5 separate regions of the Homo sapiens genome follow, and all the other regions are linked to region 1. The links are contacts of gene promoters, found by promoter capture Hi-C in human tissues and cell types (Jung and others, 2019). All regions are on one chromosome and are shown on one strand. Each heading gives the region's core, a stretch centred on a gene start or on the middle of the fragment in contact. The rest is flanking DNA. Distances are from core to core; before and after follow the strand shown. Region 1 holds the start of GRIA1 (glutamate ionotropic receptor AMPA type subunit 1). Region 2 has its middle 200 kb from the start of LINC01470. Region 3 overlaps LINC01861 (long intergenic non-protein coding RNA 1861). Region 4 has its middle 22 kb from the start of LINC01861. Region 5 overlaps GRIA1 (glutamate ionotropic receptor AMPA type subunit 1).

Evidence for each region. Contacts are between HindIII fragments. The study calls those that stand out against the background at their distance.
Region 2: a contact is called between a fragment that was not itself captured here and the fragment with the promoter of GRIA1 in region 1, in 1 of the 25 tissues and cell types used here (dorsolateral prefrontal cortex).
Region 3: a contact is called between a fragment that was not itself captured here and the fragment with the promoter of GRIA1 in region 1, in 1 of the 25 tissues and cell types used here (mesenchymal stem cells).
Region 4: a contact is called between a fragment that was not itself captured here and the fragment with the promoter of GRIA1 in region 1, in 1 of the 25 tissues and cell types used here (mesenchymal stem cells).
Region 5: a fragment that was not itself captured here is called in contact with the fragment with the promoter of GRIA1 in region 1 in 1 of the 25 tissues and cell types used here (hippocampus).

Annotation. Positions count from the first base shown.
Region 1 is chr5:153,487,417-153,493,088 of GRCh38, reverse strand. GRIA1 (glutamate ionotropic receptor AMPA type subunit 1) reads right to left here and starts at 2,419. Exons shown (of 16, transcript NM_000827.4): 1 at 2,119-2,419. The coding sequence starts at 2,200. The HindIII fragment of the contact is 6,455 bases long and covers 1-5,672 here.
Region 2 is chr5:153,167,212-153,173,011 of GRCh38, reverse strand. No RefSeq gene overlaps it. Among named protein-coding and RNA genes, the nearest start is that of LINC01470, 200 kb to the right of the region's middle. The HindIII fragment of the contact is 5,193 bases long and covers 896-5,800 here.
Region 3 is chr5:153,892,018-153,898,236 of GRCh38, reverse strand. LINC01861 (long intergenic non-protein coding RNA 1861) reads left to right here. Exons shown (of 4, transcript NR_146729.1): 2 at 1-50; 3 at 2,452-2,696. Among named protein-coding and RNA genes, the nearest start is that of LINC01861, 3.9 kb to the left of the region's middle. The HindIII fragment of the contact is 5,127 bases long and covers 1,117-6,219 here.
Region 4 is chr5:153,917,618-153,923,556 of GRCh38, reverse strand. No RefSeq gene overlaps it. Among named protein-coding and RNA genes, the nearest start is that of LINC01861, 22 kb to the right of the region's middle. The HindIII fragment of the contact is 4,095 bases long and covers 2,604-5,939 here.
Region 5 is chr5:153,762,236-153,768,029 of GRCh38, reverse strand. It overlaps GRIA1 (glutamate ionotropic receptor AMPA type subunit 1), which reads right to left. Exons shown (of 16, transcript NM_000827.4): 12 at 3,398-3,596. Among named protein-coding and RNA genes, the nearest start is that of LINC01861, 130 kb to the left of the region's middle. The HindIII fragment of the contact is 4,664 bases long and covers 378-5,041 here.

The DNA of each region.
Region 1 (5,672 bases), core at 1,170-3,669:
CCTTTGTATTTACTGTCAACATGTAAATCAATTACATTTCTGTGAATTAAAATCAGCCATTTCTAGAGACTGAACTATAATGATGTTTACATAGAAGTTTATCTCAAATCTGACAGTAATCACAGTCCAAACATAATGCACTTCTAACTTCTTGTAGAGTGGGTGTCTGTTTTTAAGAACCAATAAATGGATTGCAAGCCTTTTGTTACAGATCACACAAATAGAATCAAGTACTACCTGATGGCAGTGATATTTTCAGCATTTTGTTCTACAATTTAATGCTTCAATCTCTTTTTTTTTTGAAAACAGTAGCAATGGCTTTATCAGTTGAACAACCAAGTTAGGGCTAAATATAATTTTAAAAATATGCAGAGATACATGAGAAAACATAGCACATACATGAAACATCCTCATGCATTTATACCATTTACTATATACACAAATATACTAGACAAACACTTCCAAGCCACAAAGGATAGGTAGTATATAAGCACAAATGTAAACAATGCCACATGTAAGAGCCAGTGATTTCCACATGTACAAGTGCTCCCATTTTAAAGAATGAAAACAAAAAAAATTCTTGATTATGATGCTCCCCCTTCCCCCCAGATGACCACACCCCAAACACTTCCCTGTCCCCTTTCTCCTCCTCTGCAATGAATGAAAGAGAAAGGATGGGAGGTTGAGGAGTAGAAGGCTACGGGCTGGGCTACAAGGGAAGTGTCTCCCCTGAAGGCAGGAAGTTTTGCGTGTTAGGCACTAACACACAGATACGTACACACTTCAGGATGTAGCTTAACAGGTGTCAGGAAACAAAGCAAGTTACTCCATGGCCACTCCAAGCCGCCAGCTAGCTGGAGAGGCTGAAAGAGATGGGTACTGCAGCACATGTATGCCCGACAAAATATCAATTGCACCACATCCCCCCTCAAACACACACTCACAAAAGAGCACAAACTCCCAGCAATGCGAACTTTCCCTAGTGGAGCTATCTCCCTACCAGGGGAGAGAGACTAGAAACCAAACCAACGAAGATGCTTCCAAACACAGCAGCTTGCTTCATTCCGGGACACAAACGACACTGACATGCTGGTCACACGGAAGCCCCAAGCCCTTGTGGACATGCTTTGTGATTGGTGTTATTGCTTCTGTTTGTTTTGCTTTCCCTCATGATTATCAGGAGTAGCAATATCTGTCAGTCCCCTCAGAAATACAGGGAGGGTGGCGGGGCCTTTGAGAAGTGTAACAACTAAGAAGGGGAAATGGGGAACAAAAAAAGCATGCAGCATGTTGAAACCTGCCTCCAAGTTGAGAGGATGGAGCCCAGTAACAAGGATAATGGAGAGCCAACAGGAGGAGAAAGGAGCATGTGTACGTGTGTGTGTTTGTGTGTGTAAAAGGTAGACCTCTGTGGATAGGAAATCTAAGAGGAGGGGGCAAGGAAGGAACGGAGAAAAGGCAGGCGAGGAAGTTCCAGGATCGGGGGAGTGGAGACCACCAGCGCAGCATGGCAGACAGCAAAGAGAAGGCAGCTGGAGGAGTCCAGAACAGGAGAGGGAGCCTACCCGCCTTGGAGTGGGGGCCTTCTGGCATTATTTCAGTGGCTGCAATATACCCAGCACCCCTCACTCCTTCTTCTCGAGGGTCTCTTTTCTGTCCCCCAGCAGAGAAAGCACTGCCTCCTTCAATTACATATATATGTGCATATGTAATATATAATCACACACGTGAAAACACACACACCATACATACTTACATTAAAAATGGAATCAAGCACCATCTACCAAGCAATAGAGTTAACTCCTTAAACACCCACCACCCTTTCCAGCCTGATTTTTTTTTTCCTCCAAAGCGATGGTTCCTCCATTTCACATGCTCTTGCCTGGAGTGCGAGTAGGGTATGTGTGCGTGTGTGAACACTTCCCCTCTGCCCCTCATCCGATCAGGAGAAGCCCCCTCCTCTGGCTGTAAGCCCAAGTCTCCCTTCTGTTACCGCAGCACAGCTTTAGGGAGCCAAGCAAAACAGTCAGTACCGGGGAGGGGGTACACAACCCCTATCCCCAAAAAAATCCCTGGCCAGACCCAGAAAGTCCCTCCCCAGGCTGCCCCCTCACTCACCGATCTGGATATTGTTGGGGAAATTGGCACCTACTACCGCGCCTAGGAAACCGGTGCAGAAGAAGGCAAAAATGTGCTGCATATTCCTTTTTGCATTGGCGAAAAAGAAGCCCAGGTCCAATCATAGATTTGGTGTTTCCCCCCCTTTCCCTTTATTCTTCTCGCTGTTCTGCCTGTTCTTTTCCTCCTGCAGTTCCTTCCTTGCTTGCTTGCTTCCTTCCTTTCGTGAGGTTTGTCTGTTTCCCTTGGAATCCGAACACTTAAACTGCAGCGTTAACACCAACTGACAGCCAGATTAACTGAGCACGGGAAAAGAAGCCCGTCCTCATGCTAGCTGGAGCGCTGGCTCCCCCACTCCCTCTCCTCTCCCCTCGCAGCCTGCCTCTCTCTCCCTCCCTTGCTCTCTCTCGCTCTCCCCCTCACACTCACACAGGCAGCAAGCTCTATGCTAATACCCACCGAGCTAGCTTGGAGTTCCACAGCCGACCTCCCTACCTGTTCCCCCTTCCTCCCATCCTCACCTTATCCTCCTTTCTGTGTGTGCAGAAAGGTGGAGGTGGGGGTGTGTGACACGTGGCACTTGGTCCTGAAAGGGGCAACCCCACAGTCCTCTTTACCCTCCCCTGCCTTTCTGAGCTCGGTCTGCCCGCTCCCCCAGCCCCCAGGCTGAAGCTGCTGGGAATGTGGGTTCAGCTGTAAGTCAGTAGGTGGCAGGGGGTCCCCACAATAGTCCTCAATCCACCAGCTGCTTGATCTAGGTCACTTTTTCTAGGAGTGCATGGGCTGCGCTGGATATATCTCCTGCACTCCACTGGCCCAATTATTCCTACAACTAATTCCTGAGGGAAAGACCCTAGAAATCCCTCCTAGGAAATTTAAAGGAAAAAAAAAAAAAAGCTTTCTCTCTCCTAATGGAAGGAATGACAGATAGACAAACAAGGGAGGATCTGGAGTGACTGGCAGGTATTTTGACCAGGTATTTGACAGTCCCTGTCTACCTTTACAAGTGAAACGGTGGTCTCTTTTCAATCCTAGGCATTTAAAATGGGCCCCCTTCTCTCTTTCCCTGCATTCCACAGGAGTCTATAGCATCAGAATCGTGTGGGTGTACAATAAAGACTAAGGATACTTACACAGAGCAATTACATGAGTCATTTTGCAGGGATTCTAGTGAGAGGATTCAAGCTTCTTTCAGGTCTTTCTGGATGCTGGTCATGTCTGGTGTAAGCTGGAACTTCATAGACTCTCCTAGACCAGGGCTTCTGCTGAAATAACCTGTAGAGAGATCAGCTGTGTTCAGGATAGTAGTGTTAAATGCAAAGCAGCAGCCACTAGCCGCCACAGAATACAGTTTTTGAAGGAACTTTACAGATTTTTATCCATCTATCTTCACTCCAAACCTGTAAAGTGGCCATGAGCCCTGTTTTACAGATGAAAAAGATAAGACTTCTGGGATTAAGTCATAAAGACACAGACCTACTAAGATGTACAGTACAACCTACAAACTTGAGTGCTTTGGCCGTTACCAGTTGACTTACTGCCCTGGCCAGGACTCCTGTCCAACAGGAGATGATCCAGGAAAAGGAAAGTCAACTTTGTCTTTAGTAAGAAAGAAATAATAGACTTTGGACTCCATTTTGCTTTGCCATATGAATAGGCCATTTTATCCACAGACTCTTCACTTCCCTCACCAGGACTGTATATCATGTGGACTTGAGTGACAGCTACAAGGACTGGGATTTGTAAAAAATATCTGACCATGTACAATGAAGCCCCAAAATAGGAACAACTTGGAGGTCAAATGCTTTGTGATTTCCTATGCACTTTCACATATATTAATTAATTAGCTAAAATAATTTTTAAGGCTAATGTTTATTCACTATTTTGAATGTGCCAGGTACCATGCTAAGAAATGCACCTGCATCATTTATTTGTACAATACCTGTGTAGGTAGCCTCATGCCCATTTTATAGATGAAGAAACAGAGGTCTAAAAACTCACCCCAAGTTTTCACTGCTAATGAAAGAGATTGGGCATTTAAACACAGTAAATGCCACCATCAGGCCCCAGCTCTTAACTCTTAGGCTCTAATAACAGCAAGCACTGGGTAGGAACCTTCTAAAGGAAGAATAAGCATCAGCATAGGAAGATGAGAGAACAGAATCAGGAAAGATCACTTCTAAGGTCTCTGCCAACATTAAGAGTCTCTGATTTAATGATTCCATCTTTTAATTTCTCCATTTTCAGTTTTTGTATCTTACTACTTTGAATAGTACCTGGGGATCTTTTAGGTTCCCTAAGCTTTGTGCCTGGTAATAATAATAATTAGGCTGTCATTAAAGGCTTCACACCTTGCAATCACCTTTTAGAGGAAGCTCTTTAGACCCTTTACAAGCAAAACCTCAATGTCCCCCTGCATTAGGTAAGATTTGTTTTGCATACTTTGTAGGGAGGGGACTTTTAAGGGAGTCAAAAAGATGAATTTTCCATGGTCATTATAAATCATATAGTCAAGCAGATCTTCCTAAAACAGAGGTCTACGTCATTGCCCTGCTCAAGTATGGTCAATAGCTCCCCTTGGTCTATTAAATACATAGTTGTTCACTGATTAAATATAGAACTTACATATTTCAAGTGTAGGCATCTAGGTCAAACTACATTAGGTTCAATGTTTATTCCATGTTTCTTTATAATTCTCTTCATTTCAAATGTTGGTGGGGAACCTATTCTGTATCTCACAGGGTGCCAGGTGCTGGGCAATATGAAGAGGAATCAGACACAGTCTCTGCCTCAAGGCAGGTGAATGTGGCAGAAGAAGAAGACAGACGAACCCGGACAACTGTCACCCAGAAAGACCATGACAAGTGCTCTAAAAGATGTAAACACAGCAGCGGGGGAGCAAAGAAGGATGCAATCAGTGTGTCTGTCTGTGGGGATCCAGCAAGGCTTCAAAAGAACTGAGCCGTGAAGGATGAGGAGATTATAGGCAGTAACTGAGGACTGGGAAGGACATGCAAACCAAGGAAAGAGCCCCAGCAAAGGCTGGGGGCAGGAAAGAATGCCACGTGCTCTGTTAGCCTGGAGCCGGCAGTGCATAACTGGGAAGAGTGTACTGGGGAACTTGGAACTTAGAGGAAGTCAGTGTCAGGATTTGGAACCCACTGAATTCCTGGTGGACCATGATGAGCCATGGGGGCATTTTTAGTATGCTAGTTACAATAGCGGGCATGTGCATGAGAAAGAAAAGATTGACCACTGGTAGAAGGTGATTTTCTCATTTCCTCATCCTCAAAGGTTAGAACTACCTACCAAACAGCTTCATTTCCCTAAATAACTTATTTGACGTCATCCTTTATTAGCTCATCATGCTGTCTCTCTTTAGAGTCCCCAGTCCTATTTGCCATTCCCAAAGTGGCAAAGTCTTCAAAGTGGCTACATGATTAGCTTAAGACAGTGGTTCTCAACTGACAGCAATTTTCTCCCCCAGGGGATATTTGGCAAAAATGTCCAGAGATGTTTTTTGTTCTCACAATTATGGAATTGTACCCCTGGAA
Region 2 (5,800 bases), core at 2,243-4,742, 320 kb after region 1:
CCTTTCTGACTTGTAGGAACCAGATCTATCCCAAGGCCAGTGTGATAGTCAGTTAATGTTTCCACTAATTCCTTTAGAGGTTTCCTCTGTAGCCATAAGTAGTTCTTGTTTGTCTCTCTCTCCCTCTCTCCCTTTCCTCCTTAATTATCTGCTAAACATTCAAGGGGGTCCTCTGTAGATCTCTCTGTGCAGTTCTCTCCATTCTCATAGCCCTATGAACTCTGATTGTTTTGTTTCCCGAATTCTTCTCAGTTCTGTCTCCTCAATTCAGAATGTCGGCCATCAACAAACACACTTTTTAAAAAAAAAAAGCTCAACATCACTGATTATCAGGGAAATGCATATCAAAACCACAATGTAATACCACGTTACTCCTGCAAGAATGACCATACTCAAAAAAATAAAAAATAATAGATGTTGGCATGGATGTGGTGAAAAGGGAACACTTTTACACTGTTGGTGGGAATGTAAACTAGGACAACCACTATAGAAAACAGTGTGGAGATTCCTTAAATAACTAAAAGTAGATCTAACATTTGATCCAGCAATCTCACTCCTAAGTATCTACTCAGAGGAAAAGAAGCCATATGAAAAAGACACTTGCACATGCATATTCATAGCAGCACAATTGCAATTGCAAAAATATGGAACCAGCCCAAATGCCCATCAATCAATGAATAGATAAAGAAAACGTGGTGTTGTGTATACACCATGGAATACTATTCAGCCATAAAATGGAACAAAATAATGGCATTCACAGCAACCTGGATGGAATTGGAGACCATTATTCTAAGTGAAGTAACTTGGGAATGGAAAACCAAACATCATTTGTTCTCACTCATAAGTGGGAGCTAATCTATGAGGTTGCAAAGGCATAAGAATGATACAATGGACTTTGAGGACTCAGGGAAAGAGTGGAAGGGGATGAGGGATAAAAGACTACACATTGGATACAGCATACACTGCTTAGGTGATGGGTGCACCACAATCTCAGAAATCATCACTAGAGAATGTATTCATGCAAATAATTAATTAATTAATTAACTAAAGAATTGTTTTAAAAGGAAAGAAAGTTGGCCAGGCTCCATTTCAGTTCCCTGTTCCTGTGCCAGTGCCTGAAAGTTCCTCAGTAAAGTAACCTAGGGCAATCATATGGTTTATTTGTTTATTTATTTTCTCACCACCTGATGTTCAAGTCTTAAAACCATTCTTTCGTATGTATTTTGTTTATTTGTTTCCTTGTATTCTTGTATTTGGTAGTTTCATGCAGGTGACTGCATATAGCTCCTCTTGCTTCATCTTGGTAAGATATAGAAGTCTGAATTTAGTTTTTAAAAGTGATATCCAGTGAAAAGTTTTTGAGTGGTCCTGCCCTAATGCAGGTGAATGCATGAATGGACCTGCTCAAGTCTGTCTTCCTCTATGAGCTCTGAGTCCTGTTTTCTACCTCTGGGAAGCTCTTCTGATGGGGAAAGAAAGAGAAAGAGAGAGAGAGAGATTTTCCCAACTATTTTGGGTTTCCTCTTGGGGTCCTATCATTTGCACTTTCTGAATCTTATCAGGCCATAACCACAGTTCTCTCTTGAGAAACATTTTCTAAATATTGTCACTGTCCTTCAGACTGCAAGTCTTCACAAGCTGCCATTGCCATTATTACCTTTGTCTGATTCAGTGTCATGGAAACATGAGTCTTAGACAAATCATCAATACAGTGTTTAAAAAGGCTAGCATCTGATAAATAATTCCCCACCTCCCTCACCCACACACATTTTTATGAAGACAACATTGTTTCTGCAGTTTCCTGACACAAATGATAGTACTGCAAAAATTATACTTAAGCAAGTGGTGAAGATAGAGCCAGAGTTTCACCTCCCCTTGTGCTTCATTTTAAGTTTGTTTTTTCTAGTCTAATGTGTTCAGGATCAATATATGGTACAGGCTTGGACAATTACATCTTGATGGAAATATTGAATGGGCTTTTGTGGGTGGGGGCAAAATTTGATTCTCAAAGCCAGGGTATTACCCATGAAAGTCCATGGTGTTTTTTACAGTGGTGGCTACCTGCCGTTCTTTCTCTCTTTCTTTTTGATCTACTGTCTACCCAGCCCAGGCCTCAGCTTTATGGGAACCCATTCTAGCATATTGGCTCCTTGACTCTGCAATGAGTCTGTTTATTGCTCACTCAGCTTTCAATTGTGAGATATGAGATTCAAGCTACAAAGATCTAATCCAACCCTCTATTTAGAGATGGGGAAGCAGAGGTTTAGGAAGTGGAAGGAACTTGCCTATGTCCCACCACAAGGTTATAACTAAAGGAGAGATAGAACACAACATGCCCCACTCCTAACAAAGTTAAATATCATAGTCACCAAGCCAAGCTCTCTAGAAAATATCAAAGAGGATATTACCTAATAGGTAATACCCGCATTCCTTCATAGTCTTTTTCAGAGGGTTATAGCATGTGGAAGCAATTCTCTGGATGACCTCATTACCAGGAAAGTTAATCCGGCCACCAATTCAACACTTTTTTTTTCAGTTTCCCTGCTTAGACTTTTTCGTTAAGACTCTTCGATTCAATAATTAGTAATTACTGTAAGCTGGGCCTGGTGGCTCACACCTGTAATCCTAGCATTTTAGGAGGCTGAGGCAGGAGCATCACTTGAAACTAGAGGTTTGAGATGAACAGGTGCAAGAGAGTGAGACCTCCTTATCTCTACCAAAACTGTAAAAATTAGATGATCATGGAAATGCACGGCTGTAGTCTGAGCAACTCAGAAGGCTGAGAGGAGAAGATCACTTGAGCCCAGGAGTTCAAGGTTGCAGTGAGCTATGATCATGCCACTGTACTGTAGCCTGGGTGGCAGAGTGAGACCCTGTCTTTAAAAATAAATAATAAGTATTGTATATGCACTAGCAGGAGGACAACAATAACCTTCCCATACTAATATAGGACTATATGCTTTTAAAAGCACAAGTGCTTTTCGTTTCCTCATTTGATTCTATAATGAAGACTGGTCATTTGGGAGCTATGCAGCACCAAACACCAAGTCCCTCTTTCTAATTGCATCCCTCTTTCTAATTTCTAATTGCAGGGTGTGTGTGTGTGTGTGTGTGTGTGTGTGTGTGTGTGTGTGTGTGTGTGTGTGTGTGTTGGGTGGGGGCGTGGTGGGTATAAGAAGTTACTTTTTGCCTGTCGTGTGATGTCTTGGTGACTATACATGAAGTTACTCTGCCTTTCTAGTGCAGAGACCAAAATGTCACAGGAGATTTATCACTTCAGATCCTTCCTTTTGATGCCTTTGCACAGCCAAAGTCATGTGACTCAAGCTTTTCCAATCAGAATCTATTCTAAGACTATAAATCTTGAACATGGTGTCACCCAGCATGAGGACAAGTTTAGAAGTCACTCATTAGGGTTGCAATAAATATAAAATTTATGTTTTGACAGATTGCGTCATGATCAGATGTGACACATGTATCATTAAAAAATAAGATTTTACTTTTCTTCAAGTACATGGGTCCCGTGATACATAAGATAGTGGTGAACAATATTTAACAGCTATCATCTGCATGGTGCATTTCTACTCCTGGTTTTTTTCGTTAAGTGGACACAAATGTCAGAAGATTGCTTGAAATTGAGCTCCCCCAAATCTGAAGTATACATGCAAAAGTGAAAGTCCCCCTAGCCTGATTGATGATAGATCTTATCGAATTAAATGGTATCTAACTCAATAGTACAGTCAGCACACTGTATCTGGAACATATTAAATTTATTGACACCCTTGGTTGATGTTCTTTGTGGGTTTATAGTCCTGATATTGCCTTCTCATGACCCTCTGCTACATCAGCACTATTTCCAAGTGAGAGAGTCAAGTAGTGTCTGCTTATATAGAACATTATTGTTCCTACCAGTTTCTAATTCTGCAAGTTACCTGATAACCTTCTAATAAAGACCCTTCTGTTGCTTAAGCTAGCTAAAACAGCTTTCTGTTACTTACGACCAAAGAATTGTAAGTGATACATGTCTTCATGCTACCTATAGAAGTTAGTCAAGGCTGAAATTAATATGTGCATTTACTATTTGATAAAATTGAAGCTTAGAGAGATTCACTTAGTGTTCAAAGATTACACAATGAGTGAGCAACAAAGTTGAAATTGTAATTTATCTCTTGACATCTAAGTCTAGGCATTATCTATACAGATTTAAGTATTATGTAATTTTTTAAAGTAAGGATTTGATAGATGAACACTGATTGTTTTAGTTTAGGATGTCACAGAAGCTTGCCCTGAGACAAGGAATTAAGCACATGTGGTTTATTTAGAACATAATTCCGGGAAACAACTGAGGCAAAGAAGCGAAAACAGACCAAGGATGCACTATTAGACAAGTTATCACTGTGCATCTCTGGAGCTTAATTGCCTGAAGAATTCTAAAAGCCAGTGTTATGAACCGACTTGTATCCCACCAAAATTCAGATGTGGAAGCCTAAATTCCAATGTGACTATATTTGAAGACAGGGCCTTTACAGAGGTAATTAACATTAAATGAGATCATAAGGGTGGGCTGCAATCCAATCTGACTCATGTCTTTACAGAAAGAGGAAATTTGGACACACATGAGAAATACCAGGGATATGCCTACACAGATAAAAGTCCATGTAAGGACACAGCAAGAAGGAGGACACCTGCAAGCCAAGGAGAGAGGAGTGTGGTCTCTGGAGAAATTTAACCTGCCAACACCTTGATCTTGGACTTCTAGTCTCCAGAACTGTGAGAAAATAATTTCTGTTGTTTAAGCCACCCAGTGTGCAGTATTTTGTTATGGCAGCCCTAACACATTAATGCTGCCAGTGTAGAACATGCACTACCTGAGAAAAGATGGTATCCCACTGGTTCTCAAAGTGCTGTATTTGGACCAGCAGGATCGGCATTGCTTGGAAACTTACTAGAAATGCAAATTCTCAAGCCCACCCCAGAGCTACTAAATTAGAAGCTCTGGGGGTGGAACCAGCAGTGGTGATTTAACAAGGCCTCTTCAGGTGATTTTGATGCTCGCTCAAATTTGAGAACAACTTGCCCATCAATTCTTGTCAATGATTGGTTGAGGGATGCTGCTGAAGACATTAATCCCCTGCATGTCTAACTTGCCAGGTCGGTAAGCAGAGTGGGCTCCAAAGGCAGGAGAAAGTTGCAGCAAAAGAGATGCACACTCACATTTGGAAGACAAGCTGGTAAGCAATGAAATGATAAAGCCCTAAGGGATACAGGTGAGGTAGCACCTGCTAAACTAACCATGATGACAACGATGATGATGATAATGTACAAGAATTTATCATGTAGTACTTGTAGTTGGCAGCACTACTCTTCAACTCCTTTATGGTCCTCCGTTTGTATTGAAATTTCCAAGTGACTAAAGTTTGTCTCTCCAAGTATGTGGTAATATCGTTGAGTATAGCAGGACAAGAGAGGGAAACCTGTGACTGTCTATTATGTATCAGAGATTGTAATCAGAATCTTATTATTTTTTTTCGAGATGGAGTCTTGCTCTGTTGCCCAGACTGGAGTGCAATGGCATGATCTCGGCCCACTGTAACTTCTGCCTCCTGGGTTCAAGTGATTCTCCTACCTCAGCCTCCGGAGTAGCTGGGCTTATAGGCACGCACCACCACGCCCCGCTAATTTTTTTATACTTTTAGTGGAGACAGGGTTTCACCATGTTGGCCAGGCTGGTCTCGAACTCCTGACCTTGTGGTCCACCTGCCTCGGCCTCCCAAAGTGCTCGGTTACAGGTGTGAGCCAC
Region 3 (6,219 bases), core at 2,431-4,930, 400 kb before region 1:
CTGATCATAGTGGTCTCTGGAGCCAAATCCCATTCCATGGCAATGTTCTGGTAAGAAGGCCCACACAGCCTTCCCTGCTGCCTAGACCCCTGGAGCCAGCCCACCTCCTTTCTTGAACATTCCAGCATCTTTCCATTAAGTTCCTTTTGTGGCTTAGGAGGTTCTCTTTGTGACAAAGAACCTCTGCGAATGGAGGAGTAGAGACTTGCTGAGCTGGAGGGCATCTGAAATGCCATCTTCTGCTTTGTGTCGTCTGGCTGGGCGAGACAGGGCACTCTCTGCTTGATGCGACTCCTTCAGACCCTTCACACTGGCCCAGTTTTCTCTACTCATTCATGCTCTTCCCCACTTCCACTACCTCTCCAAAATGGACTCAGCTTAGAGGATGCCGTACAAGCCCCACCTCCTCCATGTGAAAGGCTTAAAAGAGCCGTGCCATAAATATTTAAGATATCTTTCCTCTCTGCTTCATTCCCTGACATTTTCTCCACCTTTAATTTTCACTAGTTACAACACAGGACATTCTTAGGGTAAGAAAAATCTATTTTCTGTATGAATTGTCGCAAATTCCAACTTAGTGGTATCATAATAGCTAATATTTTTGTGCTAACTCTTAAAAGCCAGGTTTACTAATGTAAGTTACGTGCTTCATGAAGTTAGATGTGCTTAATATGATTTTCTCAAAAAATTCATTGAGGTGTCATCACTATTATTCCTTGTTTCATAGATGAGGAAATTGAGAGGTTGAAAAGTTCTAAATGAATAAAATTATATTCCAGAGCTGTCTGTGTCCAAACAGTGATAGCAAGATCAAATTGTAAAGCATCTCTATTTCCTTTTTCTGCCACCATCTCCATGCCATTTATTTTGGATATTGGAAAAACAGAAAGACAGTGCTGAACATTTCAGGGTAATGTGAGTGGTAAAAGAAAGTTGGACACCAAAGGAGGTCATGTAACTGGTGAGGGTGAAGAATTCAGGAAGACTTTCCTGAGAGGTATGGCAGATTATATTTTCTAAAGAAGGCTGCAAAAATATTTTCCATCCCACATGTTTTTTCTACAATCTTAACACTCCTACATGAAGAGGTAGGGTCTGTGTCCCCTCCCCTTGAACATGGGTGCATCTTTGTGATTGCCTGGACAGACAGAGTACAGAGGAAGGGACATAATGTGACTTCTGAGGCTAAGTCATAAAAATGCCATGTTCTTTTATTTTATTGAGAAGCTCCCTCTTGCAACTCAGTCACCATGCTGTTTAGAAGCCCAAACAACTGATTAAGAGGAACTGAAACCAATATCCCTGGCTGAGTTCCCAGCCAAGAGGTAGCACCATTTTTTTTAAGCAGTGTAAGTGAGTGATCTTGAAACTAGATCCTCTAGTCTTCAGATGAACTACCCCAGCTGATGCCATATATAGCAGAAGTAAGCCATTCCCCTAGGTCCTGCCTAAATTACAGATTCATGAGCAAAATAAATGATGGTTGTTTTAGGCCATCAAGTTTGAGGTGCTTTATTAAACAGCAATAGATTAATGATACAAAAGAGGCTTTGAAAGATGGGCATCTTTCCAAGCAAGGTTCAGAGGGCCATATGCTGCTTATTGACAGCTAGTAGAAGTAGTAATAAAAATAAATGTTATTATAATAATGATACCACTCTTAGTAACTGTAGTGGTAGTTAAGTTTCACTAAGTTCTTTTTTGTGCTATGCTCACACTAAGTGGTTCATACTTTACCTTATTTAATTCTAATAATGACTCTAGGTAGGTACTATTACCCTCATTTTACAGATGAGGAAACTGGGGCTTAGAGAATTTAACTTCTCTTTATAGCCACCCGGATTCTAACAAACTCACTTTCGTAGTATTCCCAGGCTTGAACATTTCCTTCCTGATTGCCCAAACTCTACCAGATGATTCATTCTTTCATCCAGGCAGGGCTCATCTAGCCCTTTCATGGAAAGGAATGCTTTTAATCAGATTCACACTAAAATGAGGATGACTGGAAGGTAGACAGATGCATTTTTTTCACCTGTCTATTTGCATTTTCAAGGTGGATATTTGTTAATCAAATTGAAAGCTCTTGTGTAGTGCATTTCTGTAGCACTATCTGGAGGCAGAGGACCTCTTCCTAGCACTTGCCAAATGATTTTGTGCCTTAGACAAAGGCCAAAAATCCATCCTGACATGGTCCTGGCAGCTCACACCTGTTCCTCTTTTGGCAGTTTGGAAAGTGGGCTGCTATATGTCATCCCCTCTAATCTCTGCCCCAAACTGAGTTGTGCTATCACCCTTATGTTACCTTTGAGGAATCCACAGCTCAGGCAAATTCATAGCATGCCCAGGATCACACAGAAGAACCACGATCAAACGTGGGTCTTCTAACTTCAAAAGCTGGGTCCAGTCTGCAACATGACATGCTGTATCTCCCACTCTATGTGAATGATTCAGGAAGGTGGATGATAAGAGACAGCAGCCGGCAGAAGGAAAGCAGTGATCTGAACACCTAACGGGAATCCTAAACAGTGGAGAAAGGAGAGCAAACATTAAAAACTCATGGATAGAAAAAAAGAGGAAAAGAAAACCATTTGGAAGTGTTCATTGAGTTGATGCACTGGATAATTTAATAAGCTGTCTGTTCTGATCCGTCTTGCTTCCCTGCTTTTAGCAGGGTGCCATATGAAAGCTCCTACATGGTAATTATAGTGGATGATCTTTTCCCCTGTCTGGGATCTTTATGGTGTGATTTGGATAGCTCAGCTGCTAAGCTGTTTTTCTTGGGAGGCAGAGTGTGGGGCATGTGTGAAAATATGTGTGAGAGCTTGTGTGTGTGTTGCGGGGGTAAGGGACAGTGGCTGGGATTGGCCCTTAGAATCTCTTTTCCATTGTGGCAACATTTTTTTCTGCTGCTTCTTGGGATCTTGGTGCCAGGGTAACTTTCCTGCCTTCTACCTGATCACATCTTTCTCGGACTATGGCCTCAGGACTCAAATCCCTGCCAAATGTCAATAAATTCATCAGATTAATGAATCCTTTCCTAGCTAATATGGTTCTCAGTTAATTAATCAACAAATAATTATTAAAAGCTTGTAAATGCCAGGCCCTGAGAATGTCCATGCTCTCATGAACATAGGTTTTAGTGGAGGAGATTGTGGGAAGCAAGAACACAAGTAAGTATGAATTCCAGACACTGATAAGTGATAAGAATAATATGATGGCATGTTTTTTTGTTTGGGTGATCAGGGGACTAAGTGATGTCTAAGGGCCCTGAAATCCAATCTGGACCTAAATCTAATCTAACCTGCCTCTAATCTGATCTAAAGGAAGGAGAAAGAAAGGAAATCTTGTCAAAGAACTCACTTAGGAGAACTCTTTTCCAATTTGGCTTCCTGTGTATTGATGAGGCAGGCTGTCCTGTTACTTGGCATGCTAACTACCAACTATTTCTTCCTTTGATTTCAAAGATCTCATTTCAGGATAATGATGACCGTGGTGATGACTGTTAATAAACCCAATGTTTAAAATTCTATGGAGAAAAAAATTTAAAACATACAATTGGGAATTGCTCTCAAGAGATTTGCTTTGATCCTTTCAAATGGGGTGCACTAACTAGATATGAGATCTTGAGCAAGTTCCTATCTCTCTGGGCCTAGTTTCACCATCTGTAATATGATGATATTGAGCTAGATCAGTGGTTCTCAAACTGTGGTCCCTGGACCATTAGTGGCAGCAGCACTTGAGTACTTGCTAGACATGCAAATTCTCAGGCCCTACCCCAGACCCACTGAATCAGAAACTAAACCCTGGCAATCTGTGTTTTAAGGGGCCCTCCAGGTGAGTCTAATGCACCAAAAATCTAAACACCACTGAACAAGATGACCCTTAAGGCCTTCCTGATCAGCCTCTGTTTGCTTCTCAGGCCTGTTGGATGAAATTGGCCTGGAGTGGGATCCTCAGAGGGAGGGATGAGAAATGGAGGAAGGTGCCTTTCCTGGTTGCTTCCCTCCCCTTTGAAAATTTCAGTGACTTCTCCTTATCCCTGCTTTCTCTCAGCGTCCTCTGATGATTGGAGCTTATTAAGATGGGGGATTTTCCACAGGCCTGTTTCAGAGGTCCTGGAGAGGAGTTTTAATTGCCAGACTTCACATTGAGGGTGTTAACATTTATTAAAGTCAGCTCCTCTGATTGCCTTTTAGCAAGACGATGACTGTGCATAGGAGATAACACTGGGCCCAGCCGGGTGGGGCCCCAGAGGTAGCTTAAGATAATCAGGCCCAGGGAAAACAGAAAGGCAGCCTGGCATAGTGGTAGCAGAGACACAGCAGCAACTCTCATGCTGTTTGTGCTGGGGTGGCTGGGCCGACGGAGGGGTCTAGGCTGTTGTGGGATCTGGGGTGGTTTCAGTCAACAAGGTGGGCCTGGGGGAGAAGAAGGGAAAGGCTGGTAAGGTCCTGTTCAGGAACAGAAGCACTACAGAGATGGGGCAGAGAGGGCCAAAGCTCTGGCCTCTTTTGTAATGTAGATTTGGGTCTTACCACTTTCATAATTTTGTGAGGAGGGATAGAAGATGGACTATATGCTATTGGGTAGTGGAGGGTGGAAAATGCTCTCAAAGACCTGGTTCTAGTCTGGATTTGCTGCAATTGCTCTTGGCTCCTGGCCCTGTCCTCTGCGGCCTCCTGTGGGCTCACACACCACAAGCTTACTTTTCCCTTCTTTTTCTTTTTAAACATTTCAAAAGCTTTAAGGGTACAAGTGGTTTTTGGTTTCATGGATGAATTGTATGATGGTGAAGCCTAAGATTTTAGTGCACCCATCACCTGAGTAGCGTACCTTGTACCCACTATGTAGTTTTTATCCCTCACCCACTTTCCAAATCCTGGCTTCTGAGACTCCAGTGTCCATTATACCACTCTGTTTGCCTTTGTGTACCCATAGCTTAGCTCTCACTTATAAGTGAAAACGTGCGGTATTTGATTTTCCATTCCTGAGTTATTCACTTAGAATAATAGCCGCTAGCTCCAGATTGCTGCAAAGGATATTAATTCATTCTTCTGTATGGCCGAATAGTATTCCATGGTGTGTATATACCATATTTTCTTTTTTATTTCTTTCTGTTTTTTGAGACAAGGCCTTGCTCTGTCACCCAGGCTGGAGTGCAGTGGTGCAATCTCAGCTCACTGCAACCTCTGCCTCTTGGGCCCAAGAGATCCTCCCACCTCAGCCTCCTGAGTAGCTGGGACTACAGGTGCATGGCACCACATGCGGCTAATTTTTTTTTTTTGTATTTTTGGTAGAGATGGGGGTCTCACCATGTTGCCCAGGCTGGTCTTGAACTCCTGAGATCAAGCAATCTGCCCGCCTCAACCTCCCAAAGTGCTGGGATTGCAGGTGTGAGCCACCGCGGCTGACCTACATTTTCTTTATCTACTCATCAGTTGATGGGCACTTAGGCTGGTTCCATATCTTTGCAACCGTAAATTGTGCTGCAATAAACATATGTGTACTGGTGTCTTTTTGATATGATGACTTCTTTTCCTTTGGATAGATACACGGTAGTGGAATTGCTGGATGGAATGTTAGATCTGCTTTTATTTCTTTGAGAAATCTCTGCACTGTTTTCCAGTTGTACTAGTATACATTTCCACCAGCAGTGTATAAGCATTCCATATTCACCACATCCACGTCTATGCCAACATCTATTGTTTTTTGCCTTTTTAATAATGGCCATTCTGGCTGGAGTGAGGTGGTGTCTCATTGTGGTTTTAATTTGCATTTCCCTAATGATTAGTAATTTTGAGCATCTTTTCATACTTTTTTTTGTCATTTGTATATCTTCTTTTGAGAAATATCTATTCATATCAGTTGCCCACTTTTTAATGGGATGATTTGTTTTTTTCTTTACAGCAGTAATTTTCAAACTGCATTCACCTGGTCTTAAGAACTCAGCCTCGACTTCATCAGATCAAAGATCCAAGGAGTTGAATGGCTCTCATTTCTCTGGGGTCTGTGAGGAGAGGAATGGCCTCTGTTCCTTCCTTCCCTTCACATGTGGCATCTCTCATTTCATCTGGTTTTTGTCACAGAAGTTTGAAAGTATTATCACCAAGAAAAAAGAAAAAAGATACACAATTGGAAAGCACTATGCTCGATTACTTCTTTTTCTGTGATGAACTCTGCCTTCCTTCCCTGCTCCTGCCTACACTTTCTCTCAATTTC
Region 4 (5,939 bases), core at 3,402-5,901, 430 kb before region 1:
GAAAAAAATAACATGTTCACTCCATGGCCCTAGCTATGACAGGTAGCATGATGTGGAGAAAGAGCCCTGTGTTCCAAGTCACAAGACCTATGTGTGGGTACTCTGTATTCTGTAAATTACTAAGAAGCTACTTTGTATTATTAAATGTCAGTGTCTTCACTTGTGGAATGGGGATAGTATTCTGTGCTCCACTTAATTTACATGGATGTTGGGAGAATAAATTTTGATCAAGGATGTGTTAGAGATTTGTATATCTTTGAGTACAGCACAGAAATCACTGGTTCTTTTATCAACGAATCCAGGAGACTAGATAAAAAAATTGCTTTCTGATCAAAGACTTTGAGTTATGGAAATTACAGCTATAAAGAGCCTACTTTTTAAGGACATTAAAGTAAGACTTTACTAGGATATAAAGTAGCTTCTATATATCAGGACATAGGAAGAAATAAAAGAATGCTTTTTCAGTATCTCTTCAACATCTCCCTTTTACTGTTTAGGAGCAATTATAGACCTGTTCTTCTCTTTGGCTTCAGGGTTGCTTAATTCCTGCCTGGGAAGGAAGTACATAAATAGGTAATACCGGATGAGCAAGAGATTCTGTTAGTTTGCATCTCAGTTGAAAGTATTCTAGATCTTTTGCATTAGTCTGGGTGCTCCAAGAAGCAAAAGCCAAGATGGGATTTAATTAGGAGAAGTGCTTGGAGAAATACTGGAGAGGGAAGCAGGAGAGGCTGGGAGATCTATCAGACTAACAGGCAAGTCAGGCTCCTAGTAAAGGAAGAAGGAAAGAAGGCCTGGTGGAAGCATCATAGACCAATGAGCAGTCGAAGGAAGCCTCACCAAGGCTATCAGGGAGTCTTGTGTCTCCATAATGGGCCTGCCACAGTATCTGTGTCACATTCGGGCAGCGGTTGGCGGAAGTCCACGGGAAACTTGGTGAATTTCATCAGTGGCCTTTGGTAAACAAAGTTCCCAGTAGCTGGAGATGTGCAAGATACATCGGCTTGGCTACCACATCTGTTGTTCATTTTCTTCACTTGTTTGTTCATTTGGTATATATTGAGCACCTAATGTGTGTCAGGCACTATTATGAGCACTGGAGATCTAGTTATAAATAAGACAGACAAAGGACCTGTGTTTCCAAAGCTTACATTCTAGTGGTCTGATTAGCAACATTCCAAATTGGCTACCCTGGGTTTTATGTTTGTCTCTTATAGAATTATAAATGATCTACTTTCTTGTTTGTGTATACTCCTTACCCCATATTCTCCACACTCAATTTTACATAGTTTGGTCTTAGGATCAAGACCATAACCAGAGAAATCATGTGGTTGGCTAGTCCTAAAGATTAAGGTTCAGGATTAATCCAGAGGAGCGTCAAAGCCCTCTACCCATCCGTTGGTCCTGCCTGAAAATTCCTCGTTAGCAAGTTATCTCATCACAGTTGGAAAGGATTGAAATTCCTTACCCTAGCATAAAAAGCCTTATTTGATTATACACCTGCTCTCCCCACACCCCCGTCATCTTGTTTGCTTTGTTTACCATGCTGCAACAACTTTGACTTTGTCTCTTTCCCGAACATAACAAGCTCATTCTCCCCTTAGGGAGAAGGACAATGTTTTATCTGTCTGGAATGCTCTTGGTTTGGCTGGTAGATTCTTGTTTCCAGACTCCATCTTAAATATTGCCTTCACAGAGAGACCTTTCCCGACCATCCAATAAAGTAACCACTTTTTATCTTCATGTCACATTATTCTAATTCTTGGCAATTTATCAGAATCTGGTATAGCTTTTCTTTCATTGTCTAGTGTCTTTGTCCACAACTAGAATGTAAGTTCCAAAAACACAGCAGAGCTGTTATCTATCTTTTTTTTTAATTTTTATTTTTAGATGGAGTCTTGCTTTGTCACCAGGTTGGAGTGTAGTGGTGCAATCTTGGCTCACTGCAACCTCTGCCTCCGGGGTTCAAGTGATTCTCCTGCCTCAGGCTCCCAAGTAGCTGGGATTACAGGTGCATGCCACCATGCCCAGCTAATTTTTGTATTTTTAGTAGAGATGGGGTTTCACCATGTTGGCCAGGATGGTCTCAATCTCTTGACCTTGTGAACCACCCACCTCGGCCTCCCAAAGTGCTGGGATTACAGGTGTGAGCCACCGCGCCCAGCCTGTTATCTGTCTTTTTGACCACTATATTTCTAATTTAGAGCCTAAAACAGTTCCATTACCACATAAGGGCATCAGTAATTTCTTCATAAATGAAGGGAAATGGGTGGCTAGAGTTCAATAGCTTCAGGACCACGGGAAGCTCCCACCAAGTTTTGTTTTGTTTTGCCTTTAGCATCCCAAACTTACATGAAAAGTATCAAATTCCTATCTTGTCGAGAGAAGGTGAGACCTTTGGGTGTGCTGGTTGGGTGGGATGATTCAAATATAGCAGCTGCTATATCGTTTTCCTGCTTGGGCTTGTCTTATCACTTATCATTGAACCACACTGAGATTTCCCTTACTAAGTCTAGCCATGTCTTTTGAGAATCCTATCTTAATGTAACTTTTTCTTTCCTATGTCTTGTGCAAAGGTACCTTTCTTTTCTTTAAGAAACCTACTAGTTATTGATGTCACCTGTATGCCAGGAATTGTTGTTAGTGTTAATTCAGAATTGAATAAACAGAGCCCTTGCTCTTGAGGGATTTGCTGTCCCCTAGGGAAGTGTGCTATCAAAGGAAAATGAAAGCCGCTGTGAGGATAGAGAGAATATTATGTGTGAGTAATAATTTCTCAATAGAGAAACATTTGATCTGAGTTTTAAAGAACTGACAGGAGTTTATAAAGTAGAACATATAAAAAAGGCATTCTAGAGAGAAAAGATAAAAAAGAGGCAGGGAAGTGTATGATGGATTCAGGAACAGGGTAGCTAGAATATATGGGGAGGTGGGAAGCAGAAGGAAATCAAGCCGAAGCGGTAAGATAAGGCTAGATTATAAGAGGTCCGCATACCATACAAATGATCTTGGATTTTATTCTGGAATAGTAGACCCCTTTAGAAGGGGGTTTGAGCAGGGGAGAAACAATTTCAGGTTGTTGGTGCTTTAAGAATATTGTGTTGCCAGAGATGAAGGAGGTAATGGACTAAAAAGGCTTTTAAAACAAAACTATCGTTCTATAGTAAGGGTGATTGTTATTCTCGTTGTTTCAAGTAAAACCCCTCTTAGGGGCTGTTCAGTGGGAATACCTATTTGGATCAGTTCAATTAAAAAACAGCCTTGGCCGGGCACAGTAGCTCATGCCTGTAATCCCAGCACTTTGGGAGGCTGAGGCAGGCGGATCACGGGGTCAGATCGAGACCATCCTGGCCAGCATGGTGAAACCCCGTCTCTACTAAAAATACAAAAAATTAGCTGGGCATGGTGACGTGCACATGTAGTCCCAGCTACTCTGGAGGCTGAGGCAGGAGAATCACTTGAACCCGGGAGGCGGAGGTTGCAGTGAGCCGAGATTGTGCCACTGCACTTCAGCCAGGAGACAGAGCAAGATTCCATCTCAAAAAACAAAACAAAACAAAACAACAAAAGACAACAGCCTTTTTCCTCCTGATACAAGTGATACAAGTTTGTAATGGAAAAAAATACAAATGAGCAATAAAAAAATTCACCCCAATCCCATCACTCAGATATAACTACAGTTAGAAATATGTATGTGTGTGTGTGTGTGTATGTTTGTTGCAGTTATTCTGTACGTATATTTTGTACATATTCTGTACATATGCTTTTTGCTTTACAATTTATCATAAACATCATTCTACATCATTTCAATCAATAAATATCTATTTTATTATTTTAATGGCTACTTACTCTACCATTGAATTGATGTACTCTAAAATCTTTAAGGACAATGTGAGTTTGTTGTAAAATTTATTCCTTCTTTGGTAAGAGAAATTCAGTGGAAAATGGGAAAGATCCATGGATTGTAAACGTTGGGCAAGGGAAATATTTTGAGATTTTCAAGGAGAGGATTAACATGGCTGGACACTAGCTCCACACAAAGTTTTAAACTTTGTGAAGCTTTTCAAAAAGCTTGTAGCCTTTTAGAATTGAGATAGGACTGGAGAGTGACCCTTGGGGTTTTCCCTGCATTCAGAGAACTCACATGGCTTAGTTGTTCTTATCTGCTGGCTGCCATGGCAGGGACTTGGCATCTAATGCCGAGCTTTTCTGACTCTGGCAAATATGACCATGGCCAAGAGTGCTTCTAGGCCCTGGGTTTCCAAATCCCCTAGCTATGAGTCTTTAGACCAGAGACTGCCAAGCTTTCTGTACCAGCTTTTGTCTCAGTAAAATATTGTGGAGCACACATCTTAAATGTGTGCATATTTATTTTAAGATTGCATTCAAATTTCACTGTACTAGATATTTGGTACATTATAAAACATACAGCAAACAGACATTTTAAAAGCATAAGAGCTGAAATAAAACATTTAAAAATAAATGTTTTTTGCTCTCAGTTAAATATTATTCACATAGCATGTAAAGTAGTTAAGCAGTATTAATATTTTAGGGAGATCAATGCAGTTGAGCTATGCTTGGTTTAAGACTTAGATATTTACAAATTCTTGTCCAAGTTCAGTTTATTTTTATACTTGCTTTTTAATGAGTATAAAAATAAAAAAGATACTGCACAGAAATATGTTAATCCATTGAGAAGAAAGGTATAATTGGATGTATTTTGTAAATCATAATGTTCATTTTAAAATTCCCTCCACCACTTTTACATACAGGTTTTAGTTGAAATTTGGTTAGTAAATTTCTATCTCATTAGAGGCTAATTAGTTGTTGCTTTCTCTTTAAAACTAGGTTAAAACCACTCAAATTCTTCATTTGGAAGATTTTTAAAATCCAGCTTACAAAGTGAAGTTTTATTCAGAACTCAATCTAGGCAATATACAATGAGAAAACATTCCCAATATCTCTTTTCAAAATGCCTTCTCTTTAGCATGAGGTTTTTTTTTTTTTTTTTTTTTTTTTTGAGACAGAGTCTCTCTCTGTCACCCAGGCTGGAGTGCAGTGGCGTGATCTCGGCTCACTGCAAGCTCCACCTCCCCAGTTCACGCCATTCTCCTGCCTCAGCCTCCTGAGTAGCTGGGACTACAGGTGCCCACTACCATGCCCGGCTAATTTTTTGTATTTTTAGTAGAGACGGGGTTTCACCATGTTAGCCAGGATGGTCTTGATCTCCTGACCTCGTGATCCGCCCGCTTCGGCCTCCCAGAGTGCTGGGATTACAGGCATGAGCCACCGCACCCGGCCTTTTTTTTTTTAAAGCAGCTAATTTTTAAAAATACATTTTGAAAATTTCACATTTACCTTGAAGGGTGAATTGTTTTGGTCATTGTTGAAAATATATATTGGGTAGTATAAACTGACAGCTAGTTGTCATCCCAGAAAATAGCAGATTGGCAAGATTCTAGTTTTTTAGACCTAAAATTTCGTGTTAAAAAAGAATAACTTTGATTTCAACAACTCTTTGGTATTTTCTCATAAAATAATTAGCTAATCTCGGTGTGGCACCAAAAATTTTCATGATTAGTTTCTGCTTCATTGCAGAATGTTATAAACATTCCAGTAAATGGAGCAAGATTGCTGATTAAAAGCAGCTACTGTGGGGCATTCATGGAGAGAAACAGAGGGGCGAATGAATACAGCACCTTCAAGTGAAATATCCAGGTACTCGCATTGGGACTGATCAGGGAAATGATTCAATCCATGGAGAACAAAGAAAAGCAGGGCAGGGTGACAACCCACCCAGGAGAGACAGAGAGCCAAGGGAACCCCCATTCCCAGCCAAGGGGAATGGTGAGTGAATGTGTGACCTTGGGAAACCCCACTTCTTCCATGGATCTTTGCATGGATATTTGCAACCCTAGGATCAGGAGATCCCCTCATGA
Region 5 (5,794 bases), core at 1,460-3,959, 270 kb before region 1:
CAGGGAACTGGGCTGTTGACAGGCAGAGCTGAGGAGCCTTCTGGGCAACAGTATGCAGAAAATTAATATGTCCTCTCAGCCTCACCCCAGTGCCCCAAATGTTAAGGCTGTGCACACAGACACTTGGGATGAACTATCAGGAAAATCTAATCTCCAGGAATGTGAAGGTAGCATGAGTGGCAGGGAAGATTGGAAGCATACTCAGGGTATTTGTTCTTGGATCTCTCCTATCATCCGCAGCTCCCATGACTCTTCATACATCTTAATTAAACTGTCGATGGAGGATTAAGCATCTCTGGGCTGGGGCTGCCAAGAAGTTCTGGGCTGTCATGGGGACAAGAAGCCAGCTTTTTCAGAGACTGGAGTAGAAGAATTCTTGTCTCACTATTCCCTCCTTTTGCCTTGTGGGGGTGGTAGGTAACCTTATCTCCCCACCCACCAAACTCCTGGTGGGATAATTATCCAAGGTCAGAGTCACAGAGATGGAAAGGCTTATGCATGGGACATATCTTGGCAGTACTCTCCTTTTACAGGTAAAGAAACTGAGGCCCATGATGTGGCAATAAACTGTCAAATGTCATGCAGTTTGTTAGTGGCAGAGCCAAGAGTCCCTGACCTCCTGATTGCACACATTGTGCCTTTCCACTGCAACCAGCTGCCTCCCTCATTTTAGGCTTTATATCTTATTAGCTGAAAGACGTTGGGCAAGTAGCATAACCTTTCTGAGCTTCAGTGTTCCTCTTCTGAAAATAGTAATAATACTGTGCACTTCACAGTGTTGCCGTGGAGATTATATGAGAACACAGGCATAACCCAGTGCCTGGCACAAGAAGGCATTCTGTAAGTAGTGCAATGACTACTAATAATTATGCCTTTTTTTTCAGGTTTTACTTTAGGGTAGGAATGCCTCATACCTGGCTTTCTTGGTACCAGTTTCCCTTCCTGTATACATGAGAGACACTGATATCAATCAAAGAATCCTTTCACATCAAGCCCAGATGTGACCTCAGAATCTCTAGGCAACCACTACTGACCTGTCAAAGTAAGTACATGGACTACAACCAATTTGTCACCAATGTAGTAGGCCTGGGCACAGAACTTGTAGAATATGCACTGCCCTGGTTCCAGGTTCTTAACTTTGTGCTGTGGACAAGAGGCAGTAATATGTCAACTGACGTAGTGATTAACAAAGACTTTTGAAATTTTAAATCCCAGCTGTGCCTCTCATTAGGTAGGGCATGACCATTTTCTTCTCTGGGCCTCAGTTTTCCCAACTATAAAATGGTACAGTTAGACTAGATGTGTCCACAAGCCCAGCTGTCATCCTGAGTGATCTTTTTAAAAATGTTTGTCAGTTTAATGACACCACCACATTAAGACCATGTGGTTCAGTGACAGGAATACTTGGATTGGAACAAGAAAACTCAGATTTGGTACCCACCCCTGACACTTGCATCAAAAGAATTTCCCAAGTTTTAATTTCTTATCCGCAAAGTGGCTGCCACAAATACCTCTTCTGCCTGAGGTCACAGGTGAAACAAAAATGAAACCATAGGTGCAAAAGTACTTTGAGGACTGGTGCATGTTGTCTATGCTATAAGGATGAGAGCATTGTTAAGTGAATTAGATGGTTCCCTAACTGCATTAGCAGGGGTTGGGGCATAGGACAGGCTTTATGGACAAGTAGAAACAGGCACCTTCTTCACACTTTTGTTGCAGGCTAAAAATGTCAGGGAATTGTAATGAGATTGTAAGTGGCTTTTTTATTAACTGGCTGGGTGAGCTTAAGCAAGTAATGCCTCTCTCTAAAATGACAGCCTCTGACTAGGTGACCTCTAAGGCACCTTCCTGCTCTGACACATTGAAAATTGATGATTTTAGCCTTGGAGTTAGGATCAATGATGCTTAAGGCTTTGTTCCCTTTCCTGTCTGTCATACAGAATACAAAGCCCATGGTCAAGAACCTGCAGCATCTCCCACAGTGGTTTGTTCGGGGCCTGGAGTTTGCTCCAAGAAGTTGTAGTGAGATAACTAGGTGAGTCTGTACAGGATCCCTTCTCTTTTGCCTGAGGCAATATGGCAGCGTGCTGTCTCTGCTCCTTCTGCTACTAATTAGCTGTGTGATCTTAGGTGATTCTTTTAATTTTCTGATCTATAAAATGGGGACCTATCCTAACTCTGAGCTATAAAATAGGGACAATCTCTAACTCATCTTTAATGAGAGGATTAAATGAGATAATTTGTGTAGGGTGTGCTTAGCACAGGACCTGGTTCATATGTAGGCGGTAGCAAATGTTTCTTATTATTCTTATTTGATCCATAGATGGTAGTTCCATGTACTGTTTCTTCAACTCCTGGGATAAACATCCCTAAAGTCCAGGGAAACCACAGGTTTTCCTGCTTCTCGGTGTCTGTCCAAGTTGTTCCTTTTGTCTAGGTTGTACTTAGCCTACTCAGGTCTGGCCTGGCTTTGTGATATCTATAAATGTTTACAGGTCTACCCTGGCTTTGTGATATCTATAAATGTTTACACGTCTACCCTGTATGGCTTTAGTCTCTACCCATTCTTCAGAATGACTCCCAAAGGTTTGCATTTCCTTGAAGTCCTAATGGTATATGGAACCTCCACTGATTGTTCCTTGTTTTGCCTCTAATTTTAGATACCCTATCTCTTTTAGTCTTGTTAAGCTCTGATATAGACATTGTTCTCCTCATTACATGGATGAATGGAAATGGTGTCACAGAGGCTAAGTGTACAGAACAAGTAAGGGATGGAGCCAGGTTCTGGGCCTCCATCTGCTGAACTTGAAGGCTGTGCTCCTAAGCTCTCTGCTCCTTTGCTTCCGCTCACTGTCTTCTGCCAAAACACATCTCACCACCTCCACTCCCACTTCACATTTTCTCTCTCTCCTGGCACCATTTAATAGATCACCTTTTCCAGTTTTTTTTTTCCCATATACTATCCTCTTATTCATCAAGTCAACAAACATTCACTGAGCTCCTTCTATGAGATAGGAGGGGACACAAAGAGCATCAGGTCCAGCTGTTGTCCGTAAGCTGTTCCTAATTGATTACTAACTAGACTATAAGGTTTCCGTGATAACAGAGAGGAAATTGTATTTGATGTCTTTTGCAGCCCTCAGAGCATTAGCACAGACTGATACAGGCAAGGGATCCAAATCAATGCAGGAGCTTTGAAGCTTCTACAAATGTAGAAATGTAGATTTCTCAGGGGGGTGGTAGAAAGCTTAGAAATGTCCTGAGTTTCCCTGACTTACAGTCAGTTAAGCACTTGCTCTGGCTGCCTGTTATCTCAGGCTATATAATGAGAAGGACATTTTAATGACAGTTGTGGTTCCCTTTTGTGAAAGTGTCTTGGGACAAAGGATGTCCCTACCCTGAAGAACTCCTTAGTAGATCCTGCTTCCAGCGTCCCGTAGGCAATTTCTGTCTGCTTCGCTAGGTCCTCTGCACTCTCAATGGGAGACACCATCCTCTCCACGGTCAGGAAGGCGGCCAGATTGGCTGTATATGAGGAGATGATGATTAAGGTGAAGAACCACCAGACGCCACCAACGATGCGACCAGACAGGGACCTGCAGGCCAAAGGGAAGAGGCATCAGCAGCATGGACATCAACTGTGGAAAGCTCTGGGGAGGGACTGAGCACGGGTCCGGGGCTTGGCAGCAGAGCGGTCAGGCCCTATTGCACCCTTCTCATCTGTCAGCAAGATGTGAGAATTCAAATGTTGTTAGAGAGACTCCATATTTTGTTCCTTATTACGGACATGGATCTGTGGGGTTGCTGTCCTTCAGGGGTGATAAAGCCCACATGCACGTATTCACACTCCCTTTTACACATATATAACAGCAAGACACATGATGACAAAGACACAGATATGTCAACACTTGCCCACAAAAATCACAAATATGTATAAGCAATTACATACACAGCAAATGTTTTGTGCAAACATGTATGAATGCAAATGCATTTATACACATGATGCAAACATTTGATTGGTTTAGACATGTTTTCAGACTGCCTTATTATTGCTCTCCTGGCTGGCAAAGGCCACCAAAATAGTGGACTAGAAGGAAAGGAAGGAAGAATACATTGGAAATAGAATCAGAATAGTCATAGTCCAACCATTGTGGGGAATGCCACCATTGTGTGCAGACACAATTCTTTCCCCCACTCACCCAAGGAAGATAATTTGGTTGAAATAAAAAAGATAAAAAAAGGCAAATATGATAATCAATTATGAGGTGAGAAATTTATCTTTGAACTTTTCAGATTGCTATTCCCCTCTCTTATCTCCCAAACAATGAAGAGAAACATAACCAGCCGAGAGTTCCACTGTTATCTCTCTGATCTGATAGGATACTTCCAAGTCCAGGGCTTCCCAAGATATTACAAGATGATTTGCATGTGACTTGTGGTGATTTTATGTGGTAAGCAGTTAGGGCATCATATCATAATGAATCCTATGGTGGTAAAGTTATTTGCATTTCATTTCTCTTTCCATCCTGTTCAATTTATCAAGGAAGTGTTATTCTGGAGCCCCTGTACCTTTAAGCCCGTTCTGACAAGTGCTCTGACAGCCTCAAGCTCAGAGCCTTCAATAGGTGACAGTGTTTAATTGAAACCCTATATTTAACAATCAGAGAAATCACCAATGCAACCCATGAGTTTTACCAAGAAACCCAAGAGTCTACTGTGCCTCGGGACAGCAGTACGCGGGCCTGTTGGCTGCTCTGTTGTTCCACACTGCTTGCAAAACCCTTATCTGTGTTGACCTTATATGTGTTATTCCTACATCCCTTGACACTTCACTTTACCTTGATTTCTTGGAGATCCCTTTTCACTCTAGGCAGACAGGGTTTACTCCAAGAAATCCAACAAATATATGTCATTGCTTGCTATGTGGAAAAGAATGCTCCTAGGCGTTTCACACGGAGGGGAAAATAAAAGAGAGGAACACTTGTTGGAATGGATGAGACCAGGAGAGCGGAGCAAAGCTATGTCGCATGAGGAGCAGTTGCAGGAACAAGGAACATTTAACCTGATGAAGAGACTTGAAGAGACATGTTCACTGAAGAGTTGGCATGAGGCTTGTACTATGTGACCTGATTTAGGAGAACTTTGTAGAAGTTTCAGGAAAACAAATACTACTTAAATATGAGGAAGATATTTTTGATAGGTAGGGTGTGCAACATTGAGATGGCTATCCTGAGAGTGAGAGTGTTTCTCCATTTCTGAAGGTGTTCAAGTAGTGAACCATTTACAGAGATATACTTGGTGGTGACTCTTGGTCCCCCAGGACACCAAGTGCTGGGAATGCAACTCTAAGGAGGACAGAGAAGGGGTCAAGGTTCACATGGGGTTAGGGACCAGTTGCTTCCTTTTACACTTTTCCATTTATGAGATTGTGTGATTTAAAATCATAAGTAGGTAGACCAGGATATACGAATTCCATTAAGCAGTCAAGCAAGATAGTTACAAAGGGGCAAAATCACTCCCCCAGTGCCCCAGAACCAGTGCACAACAGGTCTGAAAATCATACCAGTCTTCACATAGAACTATCCCAGTGCTCTTTTCATCTTAGTAGGTGGCAGATACAAGTGTTGAGGTCATTTGAAGCTGCAGCAGCTTTCCCAACTCTGGATGACCACAATGGCCTCTAAACTGTACCTCTTTCCTTTTTAAAATTTTATTTTGTTTTCAACTGACACATAAAAATTGTAGATATTTATGGGGTGGAGTGTGATGTTTTGATATATGTATACATTATATA